Regions from separate parts of the Homo sapiens genome. Here all the other regions are linked to region 7. Evidence: promoter capture Hi-C in 16 types of primary human blood cells and fetal thymus (Javierre and others, 2016). All regions are on one chromosome and are shown on one strand. The core of a region is centred on a gene start or on the middle of the fragment in contact, and the rest is flanking DNA. Distances in the headings are between cores, read along the strand shown.

The links. Contacts are between HindIII fragments. The CHiCAGO score rates a contact against its expected background, and 5 or more counts as called.
Region 1: a fragment that was not itself captured here is called in contact with the fragment with the promoter of ARL5B in region 7 in 1 of 17 cell types (erythroblasts); the score reaches 5.7 in erythroblasts.
Region 2: a contact is called between a fragment that was not itself captured here and the fragment with the promoter of ARL5B in region 7, in 2 of 17 cell types (naive CD8 T cells and neutrophils). The highest score is 8.6, in naive CD8 T cells.
Region 3: a fragment that was not itself captured here is called in contact with the fragment with the promoter of ARL5B in region 7 in 2 of 17 cell types (activated CD4 T cells and total B cells); the score reaches 8.6 in activated CD4 T cells.
Region 4: a contact is called between a fragment that was not itself captured here and the fragment with the promoter of ARL5B in region 7, in 2 of 17 cell types (activated CD4 T cells and naive CD8 T cells). The highest score is 6.5, in activated CD4 T cells.
Region 5: a contact is called between a fragment that was not itself captured here and the fragment with the promoter of ARL5B in region 7, in 1 of 17 cell types (total B cells). The highest score is 7.8, in total B cells.
Region 6: a fragment that was not itself captured here is called in contact with the fragment with the promoter of ARL5B in region 7 in 1 of 17 cell types (neutrophils); the score reaches 6.7 in neutrophils.

The regions. Positions count from the first base shown.
Region 1 is chr10:14,879,272-14,882,761 of GRCh38, forward strand. It overlaps SUV39H2 (SUV39H2 histone lysine methyltransferase), which reads left to right. Exons shown (of 6, transcript NM_001193424.2): 2 at 2,229-2,374. Among named protein-coding and RNA genes, the nearest start is that of SUV39H2, 2.2 kb to the left of the region's middle. RefSeq lists a silencer at 1-68. The HindIII fragment of the contact is 507 bases long and covers 1,154-1,660 here.
Region 2 is chr10:22,569,206-22,572,252 of GRCh38, forward strand. The region is part of intron 5 of PIP4K2A (phosphatidylinositol-5-phosphate 4-kinase type 2 alpha); the gene reads right to left. Among named protein-coding and RNA genes, the nearest start is that of LINC03027, 130 kb to the left of the region's middle. The HindIII fragment of the contact is 1,931 bases long and covers 533-2,463 here.
Region 3 is chr10:22,652,344-22,655,852 of GRCh38, forward strand. The region is part of intron 1 of PIP4K2A (phosphatidylinositol-5-phosphate 4-kinase type 2 alpha); the gene reads right to left. Among named protein-coding and RNA genes, the nearest start is that of PIP4K2A, 60 kb to the right of the region's middle. RefSeq lists an enhancer at 3,071-3,140. The HindIII fragment of the contact is 9,843 bases long and covers 1-3,509 here.
Region 4 is chr10:22,439,387-22,442,658 of GRCh38, forward strand. All of the region lies in intron 1 of LOC105376449 (a long non-coding RNA gene), which reads left to right. Among named protein-coding and RNA genes, the nearest start is that of LINC03027, 3.1 kb to the left of the region's middle. The HindIII fragment of the contact is 597 bases long and covers 1,396-1,992 here.
Region 5 is chr10:22,718,857-22,722,144 of GRCh38, forward strand. No RefSeq gene overlaps it. Among named protein-coding and RNA genes, the nearest start is that of PIP4K2A, 5.9 kb to the left of the region's middle. The HindIII fragment of the contact is 830 bases long and covers 1,569-2,398 here.
Region 6 is chr10:22,969,507-22,972,661 of GRCh38, forward strand. The region is part of intron 8 of ARMC3 (armadillo repeat containing 3); the gene reads left to right. Among named protein-coding and RNA genes, the nearest start is that of ARMC3, 43 kb to the left of the region's middle. The HindIII fragment of the contact is 2,764 bases long and covers 1-2,764 here.
Region 7 is chr10:18,658,084-18,661,540 of GRCh38, forward strand. It overlaps ARL5B (ARF like GTPase 5B), which reads left to right and starts at 1,348. Exons shown (of 6, transcript NM_178815.5): 1 at 1,348-1,600. The coding sequence starts at 1,555. It also overlaps a transcript of NSUN6 not described here. RefSeq lists enhancers at 177-296, 997-1,126 and a silencer at 1,437-1,516. The HindIII fragment of the contact is 6,724 bases long and covers 391-3,457 here.

The sequences.
Region 1 (3,490 bases), core at 157-2,656, 3.8 Mb before region 7:
CGGCTGCGACTGGCTCCTTTGTGGTGGTTCGAGCGCGGCGTGCGGCATGCGCCCGGGCCTTTGAAGTGGGAGGCGGGAAGCGACGCCCGCCGGCGTGAACATGACCTTAATATCAGAGGGGGAGAGTAAATCGGGGCGCCTGTGTGCTAAGAAAGGGGATAAGCGAGGAATCCCCCCCAAGGCGGACACGCTAGGAGGTTGAGTGCCTCGTTGGAGAATCGCCCAGAAAGTGGGTATTTGAGGTTGCAGCCTCTGGCTTACGGTAACTCTTTCACCCACCGGGAGCTTGGTGTTATTTCTGTGGACGCTGGGGAATTGGGCACCGGGGAACTGGGCACCGAGCGCGCGTGGGTGTGGGCGTCGGGGGGTGTTGGTGTCGCGCACGCTTTGAGAGCCTGGAACTTTTCCGTGCGTTCCGGAATGTAAAGGTGTTTTCAAGCTCGTCTCCTCTCCGCTGGGATTATGACCTCATTATCCCTGAATTTTTCTCCTTGGAGAATGTCAGGGGTTACTGTGAACCAGCGGAAGGTGTTTGTGGTGGTCATGAACTATTTAATTTTGTCAGTGAAATCTTTTTCTGCATTACTGGAGACTGTCGAGAGATTGTCTTTCTTTTTTTAACCACGTGTTTGCAGTTTTTCATGTTCACTTTTTTTTTTTTTTTAATTTTCAAAGAGCATTTCCTTTGCGGGTTGTGTTTTGAATCCTCAACTAGATAAAAATGTTTAGGAAAAGCACACAAACACACCTTGAGTAGATAAGAGGAACCTCCTTTATACGTGATTCCCTTAATGAGGTCAGCTTAACACAAAACGTTCTCTAGTTTTTGTAGATGGAAGGGACTTAGGGGGTCATTTCTTTCCCATCACTGTCCTACCCCCAAACGACCACTACAAAGCCAATCAGCCTCTTCCCCCACGTTTTCTGGAGGAAAATACCTTTGTCTTTACTGCTTTAGGATGGAATCGTTTGCAGCCAGTGAGATGGTAGAAATTATGCTTAAGGGTTTCTGACAATGAAGTTTCTGTGTGAGGTGGGGAGGATGAGGAAAGGGGCCGGAAAAGTTATTGCCACTAACAAGTGTTCTCCCTTCCCTGAAATTACCTCAAAACGCAAAAGGTGATCGCAACTACCTTGGAGAGCTACCAAGTAAAGCTTGAGTTTACTGATAGATTTTGTTTGGTAACACCAGTTTTCTCCATTTTTTTCCAGTGAATCTGACAGCCAAAAAGATTGAGACCTCACTAAAGTCACATAGCTCGGTGACCGAGCGATGGGTAGTGCAGAGGACTTTTGATTTTGTCAAGTGCTTACCATGACACTAGCCCTAACAACAAGTTTGTTCCATTTTCCTAAACGTGTTAATTTACACTTTAAATTCAGTGTGGTAACATGCTGCTTACAGAAATTTGAGGGTGAAATCTTCTGGAACGCAATTAGTTTCTGGTTTCTGGAGGGTTGATGATGAGTATGTCTAATTTTCTTTGAGTTTAGTACATGGCTTATGTAAATTGAACACCGTTTTAAAAGTTTGGCTTTAAAAACAGTACAGTCCATAAGTATTACAAAATATCGATATACTCCATTTTTTTAATAACTGGAGTTTATTCACCTTGGTGATAATATATTGCAGTATGGGTAGAATAATAAGTGGAATTAAAGCTTCATGCAACATATCAAAGAGAAAACTAACATATAATGAGTTTGTAACCGTAGAAATATATTTTAATTAGATTTCAGTTCGTTTTGTCCAGTTAAAAAAAATGAAAGTTACGTGTTAACAAATTATAAGATTGTTTTAAAGTATATTTTAGATATGTTTTTAAGAATAAGTGTCCTAGAGATTTACATTTTATTAAAATAGTGATTGTAGTCTATGTAGAATACAATGAAAGTGAAAAACATTATCTCTGTTGACCTGCATCTGTATATAATCTTAAAAAAGCTTACAGACATGAAACATTTTCAAGTGACTTAATGGAAATTAACTGATGTCAGTTAAACGTAGTGGAATAGAAATCCATGAGAAAATCCAAGAACACCAATTTAACAAAATAGTTCCTTAATGTTTAACTTTTTCTTGAAGACATGTAACTGGTTTCTTGTCATAGGAATTTTTAGTCTAAAATTGCCAGTTGAAAGATGGGGAATAGAGGTTTTAAGTTTCTCTTTTTTGTTTTAATTGAATAGCTATTTCATTAGTAAAGAATTCTATTTTCTTATTGTAGCTTGGTGTGTGCCTTGCCTAGTTTCACTTGATACTCTTCAGGAATTATGTAGAAAAGAAAAGCTCACATGTAAATCGATTGGAATCACCAAAAGGAATCTAAACAATTATGAGGTGGAATACTTGTGTGACTACAAGGTAGTAAAGGTAAGGCAAATATCTAGCCCCTTACAAGAGACCTAATCAGACTTCAGTATTTCGTATTTCTGTAACATAAAAAGAACATTAAAAGAAAAGCTCTTCTTAATGTTTAAAATTCTAAGGCATGATAAATTTATATGTCCTATCATCTGTGTTGCCAAATAGCATTGAGAGGATTTTGAAGCATAAAGTGTTCTTGCATTAGAATATTTTCAGGTGCTCATATCCCTCTACATCCAACTCTTGATTATCTCCGTGTGGGTTACCAGAGCAAATGTTTGATCTCCAATTGTCTTTCGTTTTGTTCGTGGATCGTATTTCCCCACTATCACCTGAAATGAACCTACCGTTTCAAACCAATTTTAGTGTTACTGACTCTCAAGAACATCACCATTTGCATTTCCTGCCATCTTGTCACACTCCAGATTTAGTCAGGTTCTAGGTTATAATAGAATGGCCTGGATTGCAAAGTCATTTCCAGCTTTTGTTTAGTACCTTAGGACTTAAGCAAACTCGTTTCACTTCTCTAAGCCTTCCTTTATTGCTCTTAAAAAACGGCAGAGTTGTTCTCAAAAGATTTTTTGATCTAAACTGTATATTTTTGAGTAATTCATCTGTCTATAGCCTACCTCACTTTCCAAGAACTGTTTTGGTCATTAATCTACCAAATCTATCAGATAAGTGAATCGGGAATCTTGTTTAAGTCTTTATTTTCCTCCTTCATCTTCTATATTGAATCAGTCACTAAATCCCATTCTTTCAAGTTCTTTAGTATCACTGCCTTCCCTGCTCAGTGGGATCTTATGCCCATGCATCTCACCTGCACTCTCAGCATCCTTCGGCCCCTGAAACAGCCCCAGTCATCTGCCATCTCAGTTTACAAGCTATGGACTGACCAGTCCAGCTGAGAATATTATACAATCATGCATATCAGCCCCATTATAACTTATTTCTGTTCTCACACTGCTCAGTTCTACCTGACAAGCTTTTTATCTTGCTTGCTTTTCCCATTCTTGTCAGCAGGTTTTCCAACTTGGATTACTTTTCTGGGTTTCTTACTCTATCCATTTCTCATTTTCTGCTGAAGACCTCCTACCTCAATGAAAAATAGGATCTTTCATT
Region 2 (3,047 bases), core at 248-2,747, 3.9 Mb after region 7:
TCTCCCCAGGGCCGATCTTCCATCCCCCTGGTGCTCAGTGCCCCCAGGACTGGAAGATCCGAGGGACGCTGCTGCTGGCCCAGGGAAAATGTTCAATGTTTCTCAGGGCGATTCAGAGCAGCCCAAAGCTGACCCATCAGATGGAGACAGATAATGTGAACCATTCATGAAGGCAAACCTGAGAACCCATTCTACGACCACAGTCCGAGCCCCTCTGCACAGCCATGCCCAGCAACTGTTACTTGCCATGGTCTACTTTCCTTCCTTTAGGGATTCCTGAATATGGACCAGAAGTACCTTCCTTTACACACTGATTTTTCACAACGAATGTTCCCAAATACTTTTTAAAAATGGGACATTTGTAATACTTGAGCACTGCCTATGATGCTGGGAACAGGAAGAAACTATTCTACTTTGAATTCTTAACCAAGTTCTTGGGGTGTGTGTGTCTGTGTGTGTGTGTGTCTGTCTGTGTCTGTGTGTGTGTTTCCTCTCCTACAATATAATCCACCCTGCTTCTGATTCTCAGGGAAGCTTCATCTGTATGCAAATGCTGATCATTAGCTTGGGAACAACAAAACACAAAACTCATCCAAGTTTAAATTAATTCACAATAAAAAATTATTAAAAAAAATAGAAAAGGAAGGCCAAGAGTTTAAGCCATGAAACAATGCCAGATGTACAGGTTCCATCACAACTGAGAGCACTGGCAAGAACAGAGTTTATCTATGCCACAAGCCAGAAAGGGAGATGAAACTGTGAAAAAAGCAAGGCAAATTAAAACTAGAATATCCAATCTCTAAGTATAATTTACTCCAAGATATGTTTACCAGATGCCTACTTGTCCGAGGCGCTATCTTAGGCATTGCAGGGGGATTAAAAAAAAAAAAGTTAAGTAGAAGAACATACTTGCCCTTGAGGCACTTACACATCAGGAGAATGAATGAGGCAACCAAGATTCATTAACTCCCATATGCCATGCCTCACGCTGGACACAATACATATGTATCTTATTTAATTCTCAAAACATCCCTGCAAATGTAGGTAAAATTATCCCTATTTTAACAGATGAAGAGACGGAGGGTCATAGAGGTTCAGCAACTTACACAAGGTTAACAAGTCATAAAAGAACAACATGTGACTTTAGAGGTCACTCTGGCTTTCTTCCCTGGGGAAGTCAGACAGAGTCCTGTGTGCTCTGAGCAGTACCGCCAAGGCTTCACGAAAAGAGCTGGTGCTGGCAAGGGCCCTGGAGGATGGCTGGGATTTCCCCAGGGGCAATTCCAGGGGCACAAAATGGCTTGCTTGGGCGAAGACTTTAAGACAGGACAGGACAAGGGTGTATTTGGGAAGTGGATCCAGTGTGTGGGGACTTCAGAGGTTAGGAGACAAGCCCAGACCATTTCCTTCACTTAGACTAGCATTTCTCTAAGCATGGTTCAGAACCCTGGGGTCCCAAGACCAAAACTATACAAAGCCAAAACTATTTTTATAATAATACTGAGAAATTATTTGCCTTTTTCAGCGTCTTGATATTTGTATAAATAATGCAAAAACAATGGTGGGAAGAACTGCTAGCAGTTTAGCATAAGTCAAACAGTGGCAACAGTGGGTATTAGTAGTGTTTGTGATTTAAAAAAAAAAAACAATGAAAAAAACCAGCACCATCTAAGAAACCCAGCGTCATTTCAGAAACCTCTGAAGCCACACATCCTGGTTTTTGTGACTTGTGAGCTGTGTACGAGTTGCTGAACTTCTGGCTAAGATGGTGTGTCATACAAGTAGGCATCTAGTAAACACATGAAAGCATAACATTAAATGTATCAAATCTAGACCCAGGAGTACACGTCTTTTCAATATTCTGTGCAGGAAATATACATAAAGCACTTCTGTTTATAAAGAAGGAATGATTTCTTAAGAACTGTTTTCGTGACGGTTTGAGTTATGAGTTGAACTGGCCATCTTTTTCATGAAACAACACTTTTACTTGAAAGAACAACTGACAGTCTATGTTTATTTAGATCTGGGCATGTGACTGATGTTTGCTACAAAATGAATGAAGCTGCTAGGCTCCCCTGTATGCTGGGGTGCTTGCTACATGTGGTCATTTCACAGAAAACAACTGACAGGGCTTGTGGCCAGTGATAAAATTTGAGATTCCAAGTAAAAAACTGATTTTTAAAAAACTTATATCCACCATCCTGGGCCTGACCGCTTCCCAATATGTAAAAGACTTTTCTGATGACATTGGTGGTAACACTGTTATGACTTTTTGATACTGTATAATGAAATGTGTCAATATTTGGAAGAGTCAAATAACTCAGTGAACCAATGTGTTCCAAATGGCAAGTGCATGCCTTGGCAAAATCACACATTCAAACAATGCATGCAAACCAATCAATGGATTTCGATGAAGAGTACAAAAAGTTCATTGATATGATTTCAGATTTCATAATGTAACTAAGCTTTGAGAAATTACCTCTTGTCAAGCTTTGGTGTAGTATCAAAGAAGAATATCTACAATTATCCAAAAAAGTTGTTAAAACATGCTTTAACAACTTTCCAAACTTCATTATTGTGTGAGTTCAGATTTTCTTCACATACTTCAGCGGCATAACACCACACAGACTGACAGCGGAATCAGACAGGACATTCCAACTATCTCACATTAAGTCAAGACATTACGGAGATTTGCAAAAATGTAAAACAATGCTACTTGTCTCATTCATGTTTTTGCTTTTGGAAAATAGTTATTTTTCATAAAAATGTTAACATGTAATGTTTTTCTCATTTTTAAAGAAACTACATATTCTAATATTTCTTATATTAATTTTTAATACTGTAAATATCCACAGACACAACTCACATCTGCAAAAGCTTTCGAGTGTCCTCTTGTAAGAGCGTGAAAGCGTTGAGACCAAAAAACTTGAGAACCAAATGTCAGAGACCAGAGTTTGGCAAACTTTTCTGCAAACAGTCAGTGGGTAAACGTTTTAGGCTTTGTGGTCCCAAATGGTCTCTGCGGTAACTACCAAACTCTGCCATTA
Region 3 (3,509 bases), core at 92-2,591, 4.0 Mb after region 7:
CTCCTGACCTCAAGTGATCCGCCTGCCTCATCCTCCCAAAGTACAGGGATTACAAGTGTGAGCCACCATGCCAGGCCTCAATTTTTAACTATCCACTTTAGCAACTGTCTGATAATAAAACACTGAATTGTGACATTTTGAGACATCTCCCTCTGCAAAGCAATGTCTTCGTAGTAATCAACACTGTAGTTATAATAAATCTAAGACATAACTGAAGTCAAAGTACCTGTAATTATCTAGCATATTATTTCACAGGCTGAAGGTACATTTGCTTTTAAAATACGCAAATGTGTATTAAAACCAAAAATTTAAAGTCTGTCACTGTGTGGTAAATTCATCTTGCAACTCAGGTTACACAAACATCTAAGTTAAGAAATGTTATGTTCTTAATGAAAAATACACAATGAATTCCCAACTGAAAACGCTGCTCCTTGTTCTGGTTCAATGCTGCTTGAAACGTTTATGAAGGGTCCATCGCAGTGGCTCACGCCTACAAGCCCAGAGCTTTGGGAGGCTGAGGCTTGAGGATCACTCGAGCCCAGTAGTTTGAGACCAGCCTGAGTAACATAATGAGACCCCCATCTCCACAAAACCACAAAAATAAGCTGAGAGTGGTGGTACACACCTTCAGTCTGAGCTGCTCAGGAGGCTGATGTGGGAGGATGGCTCGAGCCCGTAAGTTTGAGGTTGCAGTGAGCTATGATGGTGCTGCTGCACTCCGGTCTGGGCAACAGAGTATCTCAAAAAAAAGAAAGAAGGGTTTATGAGAAAGGACCACCCCCGGGGGTATGAATCATACTGTACACTAAGTTAAGGGCCACTCTACCAAAGACAACTCTAAGAAGAAAAATAGTTTCAAAGAATAAAGAAGAAGATATGGAAAAGGTGAAAACTCCTCCCCTCTTGCCTCAGGTGGGGGGCAGTACGTGGGAGGTAAGGAAATGAAGGAAGGCAGTGCATGACAGCCAAGCCAGGCCACTTCCTTCCTTCTCCTCCACCTCTTTCTACCCAGTGTCACACTGCAGGATACCGTAAGACCCTGGGCCACTTACTCTAAAACTTCAACATCTCTTTGTCTTCCTGACAGTTTCACTGGGGAAAGTGAACTGTCAGCAACAACAGGCTCACCTTCCACTCATCTTAATCTTTCTCTTAATGATTCAATTCAGCAGATGCACACTGGGAAGGCAGGGGAGGCAGACAGAAGAAAGGAGGTAGGGCCCTGGTGCTTTGGAATTTCCAAAATTGCTCAGTCCATCCTACGCACCTAAAGTTAGTGGAGATTTGGGATCGGGCATGGTGGCTCACCCCTGTAATCCCAGCACTTCGGGAGGCTGAGGTGGGTGGATCACTTGAGGCCAGGAGTTCGAGACCAGCCTGGCCGGCATGGCGAAATCCTGTCTCTACTGTAATCCCAGCTACTCGGAGGCTGAGGCAGGAGAATCGCATGAATCCAGAAGGCGGAGGTTGCAGTGAGCCAAGATTGCGCCACTGCACTCCAGCCTGGGCAACAGAGTGAGACTCCATCTCAAAATAAATAAATAAATAAACAAAATTAGTGGAGATTTGGGAAAGGTCTGTATTCTGAAGAACTGGCAATCTGCAGATCGGTGTTAATACCAAGAGAAAACAGCTGCTGTCTCTGAAGTGCCCAAGCATTTTATAAACAGTGGTTTTTTGGTGAGTGCAGCAGTGTCTCTCCTCACTATGGGGCTTAGATTTAATAAATGGACGAAAGGAAACCCTGCAGTGAGGGGTTCTGGAATGGCAATGACTTTGCTGGCCGCAGATGCCCAAGGCCATTAATATTTCCAACTTAATTTTGAAAAACACATGTTTCCGTAAATTTTTCAGGAAAATTTAATCTCATAATTTTTAAAAATGCTATGAAAATATTCAAGGTTGAATTATTTTATTTCCTCAAGGTGAGCTGGACACTCACTCAGATTAAACTTCCCCCTAGCAGAAATATCCACTATTAAGGAAATGAAAAACACAGCTCTCACTTTCCAAGAATTTACCATGTGTGGAGAAAAAAAAGACGTGTAAAAATAGATACTCAGAGTGGGCAAATGATCCAAATCGTAAGTACAAAAAGCTAAAAATTGGAGAATCTTAGTAACAACGACATCTGTGAAAGGCGTTCTTAACATGGGCTAAGATTTCAGGATCAAAAGGGCAACAGAAGGGAAAGGGGTTAATAAGACCAAACAGTGCTAGTGAAGCTGTCGCTGAGAAACAATGTCTTCAGAGACAGGTGAGTTTTAAAGTGATTCAGGGGTAGTCAAGTGTGCATTCCCAAGAAAGGGTCTGGTCCAGCTGCTGGTCATGGTGGGGAAGCCCTGCAAGCTGGAGTTGGGAGACCAGGGTTGTATAATTCTGGGCAGTTAACACCTCTGAGCCCTCCCCTCACATATTTTAATAGGGATGATGGCATCATCCAGCTATATCTCAAGGCAGCAAATGAGATGTGTGCGACTGCTTTGAAACCTATGAAAGGTTTTACCTGTGAAAGTTCAAATTAAAGCAAATCAAAGAAGGCTACGGCAAAAGTGGGCCTGGGGCTTTACCCAAGGAAAATGCAGGGGACAGAAATGAGTGGACTGAAAAAACAGTGCACCAGGAGGGTGGCTCACACCTATAATCCCTACTTTAGAAGGCCAAGGAGGGAGGACCACCTGGGGCCAGGAGTTTGAGACCAGCCTGGGCAACAAAGTGAGACTCTGTCTCTAAAAAAGAAAATTTAAAATTTAAAAATGAAAATGGAAAAAGGAAATTGTGCCTCAAGAGGCAGGACAGAGGACATACACAAGGTAAATTGATAGAAGCCCTGGGATACCACCAGGTGGAAAAATAACAATTTGACTCAATTGAAACACTTTGCAAAATACCATCTCTAAGGCAGAGGTCTGAAGATTTTTAAGAAAAGCTGAAGCTCTTAACCCAGTGTAACAGGCACCGATCCCTGTCTATGCAGCCATGCACAAGATGAGATCTTCAGAGCTGGAGCCCTCGGCAGGAGGTGGAGGTCTGTTTGTGACTGCTGCCCTGCCTTCCAGAACCATGGTAATTTATGTTTCTTCTCTGCACAAGCCTGACGCCCCATATTTCAAATGCTGTCTCTTGATTTAGCCAGTTCACAGCTGTGCGGTCTTTTTCATTTGTCTTAAAATTACAGGTAAGTATAAAGAACAGAAACAACCACATATCTTTTTGATGTATTTCCTTCTAGGCTTTTGTGTTCTAAGTTGTTTGCAGATGGCTGAACTCATCCTGTAAACAATTCTGCAGCTCAGCGTTTCTCATTTAAAAATTCTTCCAAATATTTTAATGAGTAGGTGCTCAACAACTATTTATTAAAATGTAAACATGACTGGATGGCTAGAAAACATTCCGACATGCATCTGTACCACGATTCGCTTACTTACTCATTTATTGACTGTTGCTGAAGCATACCCTGGCTTTTTACCAAATCTGTGATTTGTGCAAGAGTGGAGTTTCCGGGTTCC
Region 4 (3,272 bases), core at 444-2,943, 3.8 Mb after region 7:
ACAAAACACAAAAGTCCCCTCTTTCATATTATTCCACTCCCAGGGCCCTTTCATCCTTTCACTACATCTTTCTTCTTATTTTTACATTTGCCACAACCACCTTCTTTGCTAGTTGGTTCCCTTTATTCACCAATTTTTTAAAAACTCATTTCTTCAGTCCCTCAACTCATCTGAGATATGAACATGTCAAAAATATATGATGAAATACAATTTAAAAGTCAGATCCTTTTAAAAAAAACTTTTAACCAGAATGAATCCATTTCTAAAAGTTTATTTTTTATGCCTGTAATATTTAAAAAGCCTAAAAATGATCTTGCTGGTTTTCTTCAGTTGAGTGTTGTGTAAGTGAAAATTACTTCACAAATCCTACTATTAGCTATTATAATCAAATCAGCTTTCACTCTTCCATGAGACTGTTTCCTTCACAAGACTTTGGTTGACCATAACCAATTTTATAGTAATATACAACAAAAAATAATGTGGAGAATAGCAAAATTAAACATATTTTTTTAAAAAATAGAGGTGTTCTTTCCCAGGATTTTTTTTAAGAGTAAATAATGTTAGCTTATGGGATTGTAGTGCACAGCACAGCCCCATAAGGAATATTCAAGCCTAATTTATCTCAGTTGTATTATCTCTGACTCTCTTTCACCGGTTTTCTCTAAACTTATTTCCTGTTACTCAGCCTAAAATGCTCACTGCCTCAAATGTTCCCTGAAGACTATGGCTTAATTATAATTCTTCCCCTTCCACATTTCACATTTAAATGTATCTTATTTCAGACTTGTTTAAACATTCTTCTGAACTATCCTTACTTCCCTGCCTATCCTCTTCATCCTAAACCGAGGAAGCATGCTGAGCTCCTCCCTTCTGTCCCCCAAGTTGCTCAAGCCTAGGAGTCAAAGCCAGATTACCTAAAATGCTAGTGATACTCAATGCTGGTAGACATACTAGAATCACTTAGGAGACTTTAAAAATACTGGTTTCCTGGCCTACCCCTGACCAAATAAATTAGAATCTACGGCATTGGAGTCCCAGCACTGATAATTTTATAAGGCTTCCCAGGAGATTCTAATGAACAGCCAGTTTGATAAACTGCAACAGGCAGCCCAAGTATCTGTCCTCGGCAGTAATTGTCAAACTTAAGTGTTTCAGAATCACCTGAAAGGCTTGTTAAAACACAGATTGCTAGACCCTACCCGCTGAGTTAATGATTCAGTAGATTTGGGGTAGAGCCCCCATATTAGCATTTCAAACAAGTTCACAGGTGATGCTGATGCTGCTGGTTCAGGGATCATTTTTTGAGATTCTCTGTTCCAAGACACCAACAGAAACAAAGACATGCAAGAAAAAAATGAGAGAAAAAAATTAGAAAGATTTTGATATTTCAAACAAAGCTTTGAAGTAATTATCAAGGTGCGAATTAGAAACGAGCTTCTTTACCTTTATGGTTTAGTGTGATTTTTACGTTTAAAATTGTATTTGGGAAAAGAGGACTACCATAATTCCTTTATTGTTAGGGGTAGTTTCTAGAAGTCTTAGGCCCTGTGCATTTTTTTTTCATATAAACCTCACCTTTCACCCTTCCATGAGAATGTTTCATCCAGATTTTGCCTGACCATAACGAGTCTTACAGTAGCCCACAACAAAACGTTTGTGGAGAACAGCAACATAAAACACACACACACACACACACACATAGAGAGAGCAAGAGAGAGAGTGGAAGAGAGAGATCTCACTTCCAGCAAAAGCCCATAAGGCAGAAATAGTGTTTATCTTGTTTTCTTGGTGATAGGCAAACCTTACCTTGCATGTTCAAGCCTGTGACAGAGAACTTGACACACGGAGGGCACGCAAATATCATTGCAGAAAACTTGTCCGAGTTGTGGAAATAAAGAGTACTTTGCTTTTGACTGACTTTCTCATCTGTTTTTGCAGTTTATGCTCTCTCCACCAGCTCATGAGATTACATGAAGAAAGTCAGGTGTAGGAAGCTTTCAAACTTGCCCAGAACCTTACAGCTCATTAGGTATAAAATGAGGGTTCTTGGCTCCCACACTCTATTTTTCTCTAGAACATGCTGTAATTCAAATGCCAGAACACTGGATCTGAAGGGAAGAGAGAAAAGATTTGATACTCTTTAACCCTGTAAAGTGAAATGGAAGAAAAACACACTGCAGTTTTCAAGTTCATGAAACAGAGTTACAAGAATTCAGATGCAATTTATGACACCCGAGGGAGGAAGAATATGAAAAGGAAAGAGAGAGAAGTAGAAAAAATTTCAGGGAAAACACCTGTATAGTTAGCTAATAGTCTTAGGGCCCGAAAGAGATTCTGTTGGACCTTAAGGAAGACAGGGCAGAAGACTCATCATTTTAGTTTTGGTTGTTACAAGCCACCCAAAAATTTAGTGGCTTAAACCAAGAGCATTTTATTCACTCACAATTCTTTGGGTTAGGAATACAGGCGGGGGTCAGGGAGGATGGCTCTTTTCTGCTCCACGTGGTCTTGATTAGGGGTATCTTAAGGGGCTGGAGGATCCAAGTTGGCCTAATCCACAAGTCTGGAACTTGGTCCTCCTCCATGTACCTCCCTCTCACTCCACATGGTCTTCAGTAATTCAGTAGTCTACCTCAGGCATTTTTACATGGCAGTGGTTTACCAAGGGGTAGAAGTAATCACACAGCATTACTTTCATTGTATTCTGTTGGTCAAAGCAAGTCAGAGGGCCATTCTGGATTCAAGGAGCTGGAAAACAGATTCTACTCTTGATGGGAGGATGGTACAGGCACATTACAAAAAGAATGTGGTTAGGCTGAGTGAAAGAAGCCAGACACAAAAGAGCATATATATTATGCTAGTTATATGAAATTCTAGATAAGGCAAACTAATCTATAGTGACAGAAAGCAGATCACTGGTGGCCTGAGGCTAGAGGATGGGGATTGCCAGCAAAAGGGCATGAGGGAGCTTTTTGGCATGATGGAAGTGTTTTGTACCTTGATTGTGGCAGTATACATACAAGTGTATACATTTGTCAAAATGTATGCATTTTATTGTAGCTTTTAGGTAAAGTGTACCTTTAAAAAAAGGTACAAAATAGGAGGTAGGAAGGATTCTCATGACCACCATCAGAAATGATCTATCACATATAAAAAGTTAGATCTGAAGGGACCTTAAATGATCCTGTGATCCAATGTCTTCATTATATAGATAAGGAAAGTGAGGATCAGAAAGCAGACCTTGCCAAAGGATACTAGTTGGTGATAAAAGC
Region 5 (3,288 bases), core at 734-3,233, 4.1 Mb after region 7:
AAATGACCTTAGCTCACGCCTGTCATCCCAGAGCTTTGGCAGGCCAAGGCAGGAGGATCGCTTGAGCCCAGGAGTTTGAGGTTACAGTGAGCTCTGATTGTGCCACTGCACTCCAGCCTGGGCAACAGAGTGAGACCGTCTCTAAAAATAAGAAAGAAAAGGAAAGAAGAACAAAGTGACCTCAAAATGTGTAATCCAATTCTCAAATTGTATGCATTCGATAGACAATTGATATCTAGAGAAATGTAATAAGTAATTTCTTGGGCAATAAGAAACTTTGAAGGCAAGGACCATGGTGTACCCACTTCTAGGGCGTCTCAGTGAACCCTGAATACTCCCTTTCCCATAGCACCCGTGGTGAAATTTTGGTGAATAAAGAAAAAAGGAATATTTTATCTCTCATAACAAAGTTACATGTAAAGTTTGCGTAGCCAGAAAATGTTTTGTGCAAGGTTCCATTCAGAAATACTTTGTTAGGAAATTAGGCTAGACATAATATTTAAACTCGAGGGCTAGATACTACATGCGGACTTAGCCACCTAGCAATTTGATCGCTGTTTTCCTTTGGGGTTTGCATGCTAATGAGACAAAGTGTATGTCCTGCTTGTTCTTGGTTCAGCCCACCTGGTTCAAGCTGCTTACCTTGTCAAGCTGCCAAACCATCAACATTCGCCAAAGGTCTGGAAGAGAGGCATAGATCTTCCTTCTCTAGGAGGAAGATCAAGGGAGTGTGACTTCAAGAAGAGCATGTGGTTGTGTCAGTCAAGAAGAATGCCATGCCCTCCTCAACAGCCACATCCTTTTGCATTTGGCCTGGTGGGATGTTACACATCCAGATGGCAAAGCCATCACAAATGGAAGAAAGGCTCCAGCAGCCAAGTTCACTAAGAAGAAAGAAGGACATGTCAAGAAGATTTAAAACGTTCCCAATACTGACTTGGTTTTATTTATTTATTTATTTATTTATTTATTTATTTATTTATTTCTGAGATAGGGTCTCACTCTGTGCCCCAGGCTGGAGTGCAGTGGCATAATCATGGCTCATGGCAACCTCAACCTCCTGGGCTCAAGTGATCCTCTTGCCTCCCACCTCCCTAATAGCTGGGACTACAGGTGCACACCACCATGCCCAGCTAATTTTTGTATTTTTTTGTAGAGACAAGGTCTCACTGTGTTGCCCAGGCTGGTCTGGAACTCTTGGCCTCAAGTGATCCCCGTCCTTCGCCTCCCGAAGTGATGGGATTATAGGCGTGAACCACTGTGCCCAGCCCCCAATACTGACTTGTTTATGCTTCTTGTTGTTGTGGTTTTGTTTTTGCTTACATTTACTATAATCAACTTTATTTAGTATCTTTATTTAGTATAAATAACTTTATTTAGTATAAAACTACATGGTGTAAATATTATGTTGCCTAAGGTATACAAGACCAGAAGTAGAGGTCGAATAGGGTAGATGCTCTGATTTTTTATATTACCCTTTTTAATAAAAAAATACTATCAATCGAATAATTCCAATTCTTCCTTGAGAAAAGGGAAGTGGTAGCTTTTTTGACTTAGTGCTATTTGGAAGCTTTGTGCTTTTCCTTGCTTTATGAAAAGATCAGAGCAAGATGTGAGACAATTCCATTCATCCTTCTACAATGTCACCTTGAGCTTTGCCATGCAAAATTATTATGTTGGAAGACCATTCTTAAAGTGCATAAGCTGTCAAATCTAGCCAAAAGGCAATAAGTAAGCTACAAATGCAATAAATGGGCTCTAAAAATTCAACTGTGACAAGTGAGTTACTTTTGGGGGGATAAGCTATTGACATGATGCAGCACAGCTTGCTTTCTGGGAGTTCCAGGGGTCTGGCTAAACTTCCTGGACTGGCTGTGGTTTGGTGCCAGCCAGTTGGGGTTTTCCACTCCAATTTAAATATCGATGGTGATTCTTCTGGCTTCTGTAGCTGGCTGGGACTTCCTGGACAGTGGCAGCCATTCCAGGAATCTACCAGTTAGTTGACTCCTGTCTGGTTAGCCTGACTTGGGGAGATTGGACTGGGAGAAGATGGAGTAAAAAGCAGGTAATGCGCAGACTAACCATTCCCCAGACCACCCCACCTTCTCCACTCCCCAAGCAGCAACATGAGAACTTGAGCTAGCCTCCCCCGCTGGAAGACAGGAAGCTGTGTGAAGGACATTATATCTTGATCATATATATCTTTATATATATATGAAAGTTTTCTTTATTATAGAAATGGAAATTTCAACATTGGGAGATCACATGGCAGGATATAATGCATCCAATAAACATGATATTTTCACAGAAAATGTAATGACATAAAATAATCATGATATTAATATAAGTGAAAAAATAGGATACATATCATATATATGCTATGGTTTTAATAGCACAAAGCTTTTTTTAAAAAGCACAAAGCTTCCAAATAGCACTAACACCTATAATCTCTGCACTTTAGGGGGCCATGGTGGAAGGCTCTCTTGAGGCCAGGAGTTCAAGACCAGCCTGGGCAACACAGCAAGGCCCTATCTTTACAAAATAAAAATTAAAAATTTTTAAAAAGTAAAAAGTGTATTATAAAATGTGTGTGCATGTAAAACACTGAAAGAAAACAGAGCATACTTTTGACAGTGCTATATCAGGGGTGCAGTTAGGATTATGGATGATTTTTAAAATATATTTCTGCATTTTCCAAATGTTATAAGATGCATACGTGTTACTTTTATAATTTTTTTAATGCAACTATCTTTCCTAGTTAAATAAGTAACACAGTAATGTCATTTAACATACTAACCCAATTCCAATAAGAGACCAGCATTTTCACTTGCTCCTTGCTATTTATAATAGTCGTTGTATGATTTAGGCAATGGCGAACTAAGCCTGTGGTGAACATTTTCCTATATGTAGGAAAAAGGGAACCTCCTGTGTTCGCAAAGAGTCCTTATGCAAGTTTACAAATTGTTTACCCATTGGGCATCATCTTCCCAATGCATACAGCCTATGCGTTTTTCGGGGACCTAGAAAAAATTTGAGATGTGAAAACAAAAATTTTGATTACAAAAGAAAACTGCAAAAGTGATATCAATAATAACATTTGACTAAATGTTGCCATTTATTAAATTTAAATTTAGTATTTAAAAAGTCATTACGTATATAAAGAATTTGTGAGTTAGCTTTTCTTATGTTACAAGTATGCATAATGATTGATAAAAAAGATAGTAAATAGTCAATCAAAAATTAAATGTTTGGCTGGACGTGGTGATTCATGCCTGTAATCCCAGCACT
Region 6 (3,155 bases), core at 133-2,632, 4.3 Mb after region 7:
AGCTTTAATGCAGTAAGCAAGATTTCACCATCCAGTATGTAGTGTGCATAGAGGGGCCTCATGAGTTACATTATAAATGCCTATTTGAGAGACTGGTTGTGAAATCAAGGTTTCTTCATATTGGCAAAAGTTGGTTTACCCAGTATTCTATCAAATGGAACTTAGACATTATTCTAGCTGGTCAGTTCTCTCTTCCTTCTATCCTAGTTCTTCTTAGCTAAGTGAGACCCGAAGAGAAGTAAAATGGGGAGACACGGACAATGCCAAACCTGAAATGTTTGCGTATCTCAGCATCTCTTTGGAGAGTATTTATATGTATCAAATGTGGCTGGGTCATTCTAAGACTGTTCTCACTCATTTTGAGGTGGTGAGTTTGATGATGCCTACCCATCATGTGCCACAGTACTGGAAAGTATGCTGCAGAGTTCCTGGTACTAGAGTTCTAGTACTAGTTCCACTACTGGCATTGTAACGACCTACTTAAGTGATTTTGAGTGAACTATAACTTCTCCAGAACAATGTATATATTCGTTTACTCATGATTTCTTACTGAGTTCTCACCCAGAACAGGAAAGTAAACAGGCACTTACAATGCAGTGTTCAAAGTGATTAATGATGGAAACACAGGATCACCCAGGAAGGCTCCCAGCACAGACCTGGATCAGAAAAATATTTCTGAAATCAGTGATTAACAAGCTAGGACCTAGAGTAAATAAGATAAATTGTCTGGTCAAAGAAGGTTCAGATGGGATGGAGGAGGAGAAGTGGTTCTGAGAAGGAACAGGGTGTATAAAAGCCAGAGGAGGGATAACATGGTAAGTTCCAGAACCGAAAGTTTTCAGAATGGCCAATGACCAGAAAGCCACAGAACACTGAGCGCTCAGGCTATGGACGTGGTGAGGAGCCCAGTGCTCATGGACATTATAAGCCCAGTTAAGGATTTTGGACTTTATTTTAATGGCAACAAAGAGCCATTGAAGTTACTCAGAAGGGAGGGAACATCATGGATTTTCACTTGTTAAAGAAAGAGAACTCGTGTTGCAAAGTGGAGAAGAGATTGGAAATGTTTAGGACCAGACACAGAAGACCAAAAGGGGGTTGCTGTAGTAATCTAGGTGAGATGTGAAGGTGCCCTGAAACAGAGATGCGGTGTTCAGGACTGGCTCAAGGCACTTTGCAAGGAGAACCACCAGCACATGTGTGAGTATTTTTGAATGACTATGTTGGTTGAAAGAGGAAGAAGGCGATACCAAGGATGAGGCCAGGTTTCTGGCTTAGACAGCTAGAAGTAAAATGGTGCCACTCACAGAACTGAAGAACTCAAGAAGGGGAGCGGTTTTGCTTGAAGAAAAGGAATCAATCCTATTCTTGCTTTTTAAATTGTGGTGAAATACAAATACTATGAAATTTACCGTCTTCATCATTTTTAAGTGTACATTTCAGTGGCATTAAATGTATTCACATTTTTGTGGTGCTGTCCATCCACAGAAATCTTTTCATTTAGCAAAACTAAAAGTATACCAATTAAACAATCATTCCCACTCCTTCCTCATACAAACTCCTGGCAACCACTATTCTTTGTCTCTATGAATTTGATGACTCTAGATCCCTCATATATATGGAATCATACAGCATTTGTCCTTTTGCAAATGCATAGCACTTGGCACGATGTCCTTAAGTTTCATTCATGTTGTAGCATGTGTCACAATTTCCTCCCTTCTTAGGGCCAAAGAATATCCATTGCCTGTATAGACCACATTTTGTTTATCCTTTCAACCATGGATGGACAGTTGGTTACATCTGCCTTTTGGTTAATGTGAATAATGTTGCTAAGAATGTGGGTATACAGATATCTCTTTGAGTCCCTGATTTCAATTATTTTGGATATATACCTAGAAGTGGAGTTACTGAATCATATGGTAATTATATTTTTAGTTTTTTTTTTTTTTTTTTTGAGACAGTCTCGCTCCATCACCCAGGCTGGAGTGCAGTGGTGTGATCTCAGCTCACTGCAACCTCCACCTCCTGGCTTCCAGCGATTCTCCTGCCTCAGCCTCCTGAGTAGCTGGGACTACAGGCACGCACCACCACACCCAGCTAATTTTTGTATTTGTAGTAGAGACATGATTTCACCATGTTAGCCAAGCTGGTCTTGAACTCCTGACCTCAGGCAATCTTCCCAACTCAGCCTCTCAAAGTGCTGGGATTACAGGTGTGAGCCACCATGCCCGTCCTCTATTTTTAATTTTTTTGAGAAACTGCCATATTGTTTTCTGTAGCAGCTGTACCATTTTACATTCCCATAACCAATGCACAAGAGTTCCAATTTCTCCACATCCTGGCCCACACTTGCTATTTTCTGTTTGTTGATAGTAGCCATCCTAATGGGCGTGAGGTGCTATCTCATTGTACTTTTTATTTGCATGCCCTAATGATTAGCAACTTCAAGCATCTTTATCGTGTACTTACTGGCCACTTGCATATCTTCTTTGGAGACATCTATTCAAGTCCTTCTCCCATTTTTTGATTGGGTTGTTTTCTTGATGCTAAGTTACAGAAGTTCTTTATATATTCTGGATATTAACCCCTTATCAGATATTATTTGAAAACAGTTTCTCCCATTCTGTGGTTTGCCTTTTTACTCTGTTGATTGTGTGCTTTGATGCAAAAAGTTTTAAATTGTGGTGCATTCCAATTTATCTATTTTGTTGGCTATGCTGTTTGCTGTTGGTGTCATATCCAATAACTCATTACCAAATATCAAAGCTTTTGCCCTATGTTTTCTTCTAGGAGTTTTGTAGCTGTAGCTCTTATATTTAGGTCTTGATCCATTTTGAGTTTATTTTTATATAGGGTATAAAATTATGGTCCCAGTTCGTTCTTTTTCATGTAGACATAAATTTTTCCTAGCATCATTTGTTGAAATTGGTTATTTGTAATAGAAAGGAATTCAAGCAGATAGTCTTTAAATCCTTTCTGGCACTTAATGTTTTCTGATTCTACTTCCTTTTGTTAGTTCTAAAATAACTACATTCCAGTTTCAAGTTGTGTCTCCTGTCTTTATGTTAGAATCTAATGACTAACTGTATTTACTTCATATATGTCATCTGTGATTGTATTATGTTCCCTTCAAACATCACTTTTTCAGACCGAAG
Region 7 (3,457 bases), core at 98-2,597:
AAAAATGTCCTTTTAAGCCATTACTTACACAAACACAAAATTATTCACATTTATGGTCCAACTGATAGTCATGAAAGTTAAGTTTGCATAGGGTCAGTACATTCTTTTTCCTCTACATAGGAGGTTGAAACTTGCCTTTAATGTTGTAACGTTGGAGCATATTATCCTGCATCTAAGTCTTAAAGGGTCTTTAAACCATAGCACTGGGAGGACGTAAGTCATACATTCTCCTTGTACAGGTTAACTCAAGAGTTTGGCATGTTAAAAGGCCACGTTGCCAAGGTTAAAATCCAACCATCTGACTGAAGTCAGAGTCTAAAAAAATTTTAAGCTTGCTCCTCCGTCAACTGGTTTCAAGGACATTCAGTTTCGTTTCATGCCAGGCTGTGAAGCTTTTCTTTTCAATGCTAGAACCTAACCATGGAAAGTGGAATTGAAAACAATTACACAGCGAATTGGCTTATGCGTGGACTTCGATCTGGGATCCACGAACATACCTAATGCTTGGCAAAATGGAGAGGGGTGCTATGTGTTATTATTATGTGTTATTATTAATCACATAACTGAACTCTGTGGCTCCAGGCCTTCCATGGCTCGTCTCCCAATCAATTCTTTTCAGAACTAAGAATCACGACAGGGGCCGGGCGCGGTGGCTGAGCCTGCAATCCCACCACTTTGGGAAGTCGAGGCAGGAAGATCGCTTGAGCCCAGGAAATTGAGTCCCCCTGGGCAACACAGCCCGACCTCGTCTGCAATCGATCAATCAATCAATGAGTACATAAATGCATAAGCCAATGAATGAATACGTGAATGAATAGATTAATAAATGAATGAAGAAGAATCACGGCAGAACTCCTAACCCCTAGCACGCCTGCCTAGGGGAACAGGAATAAGTCAGGAAAGAAACACTCTTCACTTCTGTGAGTTTTCTAAGAGCAGCAAACGGCGGCTGCTCACTTAGAGAACCTATGGTCTTTCCTGGTTTTAGAGGTCAGGGAAGCAGCTGCTAGCAGCAGAGACTCAAATCAAAGGGGAGTCCCACAAACGTTTTGAAGGCTGACATCAGAAGGAGCACGCACCAAGGGAAATTTCCCACCCCCCCGCGATACCGCAAATTCCCAGCCGCTGGCCGTTTGGGACTCTCCTACCGGAAGTGAAACCGAAGAAAACGCCACGTCGAAGGCGTGGGTTGCCGTAAGTGCGCCGTCGTCACGCGCCTAGCTTCCGGCGATGGGTGGTCCTGGGATCCGGAGGGGAGGCGGGGTGGAGGCGGGGCTTGGGGCTGTGGAGAGGCTGTGGTAGGTAGGTGGGTACAGACCGAGGGGACTACGGGTCGGCGTTGGGCTCAGTGGGCTCGAAACAAAGGGCTGTCCGGTGGGGATTCGTCGCGGCGCCTTCTGAGTGGTCGGGTCGAGGCTTCTCGGCCTAGCAGTGCCCTCGCTGCGCGATCTCAGGCGGGTTCTCCTCGGCTCCGCGCAGCCCGCGCCGCGGTGGGGGACCCGGCGCAGCGGCACCTGCTGCCGAGGGACCCCGCGGCCCGCCCCGGTGCTCGTGATGGGGCTGATCTTCGCCAAACTGTGGAGCCTCTTCTGTAACCAAGGTGAGAAGAATGGAGCTGCGCGGCGGCTCGAATCCGAGGCAGAGGGTCCCGCCGCCGATGGGGACACCGGAGACAGGGGACAGAGCGTTCGGAGACGCGGAGGAGGAAGGGACTTAGGCCAGGGGGCGGGCAGAAACTCAGTGTTTTAGACCTGGAGGACGTACAGGAGAGACCTGACGTGTGGGAGAAATAGGGAGGCAGAAGAGAAGGTATTTGGCGTCCCAGAATCCAAACTGAGAATGTTTGGATATTGGCGAAGTAAAGCGGGATACAGCTAATGATGCCAGGAGGCGTATGGAGGGCCTTTCTCGTCTTTATTGAAGCGTGCTTGTGTCTATGTGTATCCCCAGGATAAGTGTCCGCCCAGAAACCTAGAACTTTTTTTTTTTTGAGTAATGTAGGTGCTTTGTTTTCCCGCCCTGCAGTTTGAGCCGTAAGCCAGTGCACTTTCACTCTGATTTCGCCTCCTTTCCTCTAGGACTTGGGAATGAGTTGTCCTATTCAGATGCACGAGTTTTCCAGCATCTTCATTGTAAACTTTTTTTTTTAAAGCATTTAGTTCAGAAACTAAATGCTTTTCGGTTTTGTGTAAGACGTTACGTGTCCGTAATTAGTCTGTAACAGGTAATGAGACACCTGGAAGTGGCAGGTCCAAAGGGCCGAGAAGTTGCAAAACCTGTTCTGAATCAGAATGAGATGTGATGTCTTCTGAAGAGAGAAAACACCCAGACCAAAAAAGGGGCCGACGATAAGTTAAAGTTTGAGGCGTCCTTTGAACAGAATGGTTTCTTAGTAATTGAAACCAGTTTTGAAAATCAACTCGTTTCATTTTACATTTAAGAGCCGGGCATCGTTAATAAGCCAGTTTTATTTCCTTTTATGTTGGTACCAATTTGTTACTGCTAATGTAGGTATCTAATCTTTTTCTGGATTTAAGAAGTTGTGGAGGTAATGGAATGGCTTTAGTTGACTTGTTCTGTAGATTGATAAGAACACTAAAGCAGTCTTTTTCAAGGTTATAAATATAGATACAGGCACACACATGTGTATATATATGTATATGCCTGTATCCAGTAACCACAGATAATATTACTTATCAAATGATTTCAAAGTGAGCAGAGCTTCACACTTTGTGGGTATTATCCATACATTTAAAATATTATTTTTATTTATTTATTTTTTGAGGCAGAGTCTTTCTCTGTCGCCCAGGCTTCAGTGCAGTGGCGCAATCTCAGCTCACTGCAACCTCTGCATCCTGGGTTCAAGCGATTCTTGTTCCTCAGCCTCCCGAGTAACTGGTATTTACAGGCACCCGCCACCACGCCCGGCCTATTTTTGTATCTTTAGTAGAGACAGGGTTTCGCCATGTTGGGCAGGCTGGTCTCGACCTTCTGACTTCAGGTGATCTACCCACCTCGGCCTCCCAAAGTGCTGGAATTACAGGTGTGAGCCACCGCGCCCAGCGGTAAAACAGCATTTTAAGACATGCTTAAAGGTATAAAGATTAATACAAAAATCACCAGTTTTCTCTTTCCCCTGAGCTGGAGAATCGAAACGTTACCGAAGTAGTTGGTTTTCCCTTTATATCCTTTCCCGTTTTCCTTTCTCCCTTTTCTGTTACATGGCTGCTGTCTTGTCTTTTTTCGTTGGAGGTGTCCTTACTCAGACTAGAGGTAATAAAAGATGTAAGGGGAAAATGTAGATGGTGATGAAAGACATCCAGTGGCTACTTTTATACTCGCATAATTGTTCAGGCCTCCTGAATCTCCATTTCTACTTAGAATTTTTCTCTTCCTCTAACTTTCCTGTTGGAAAATTTAGAACCAGTGATTATTCTGTTATTTTATTCTTATTCAT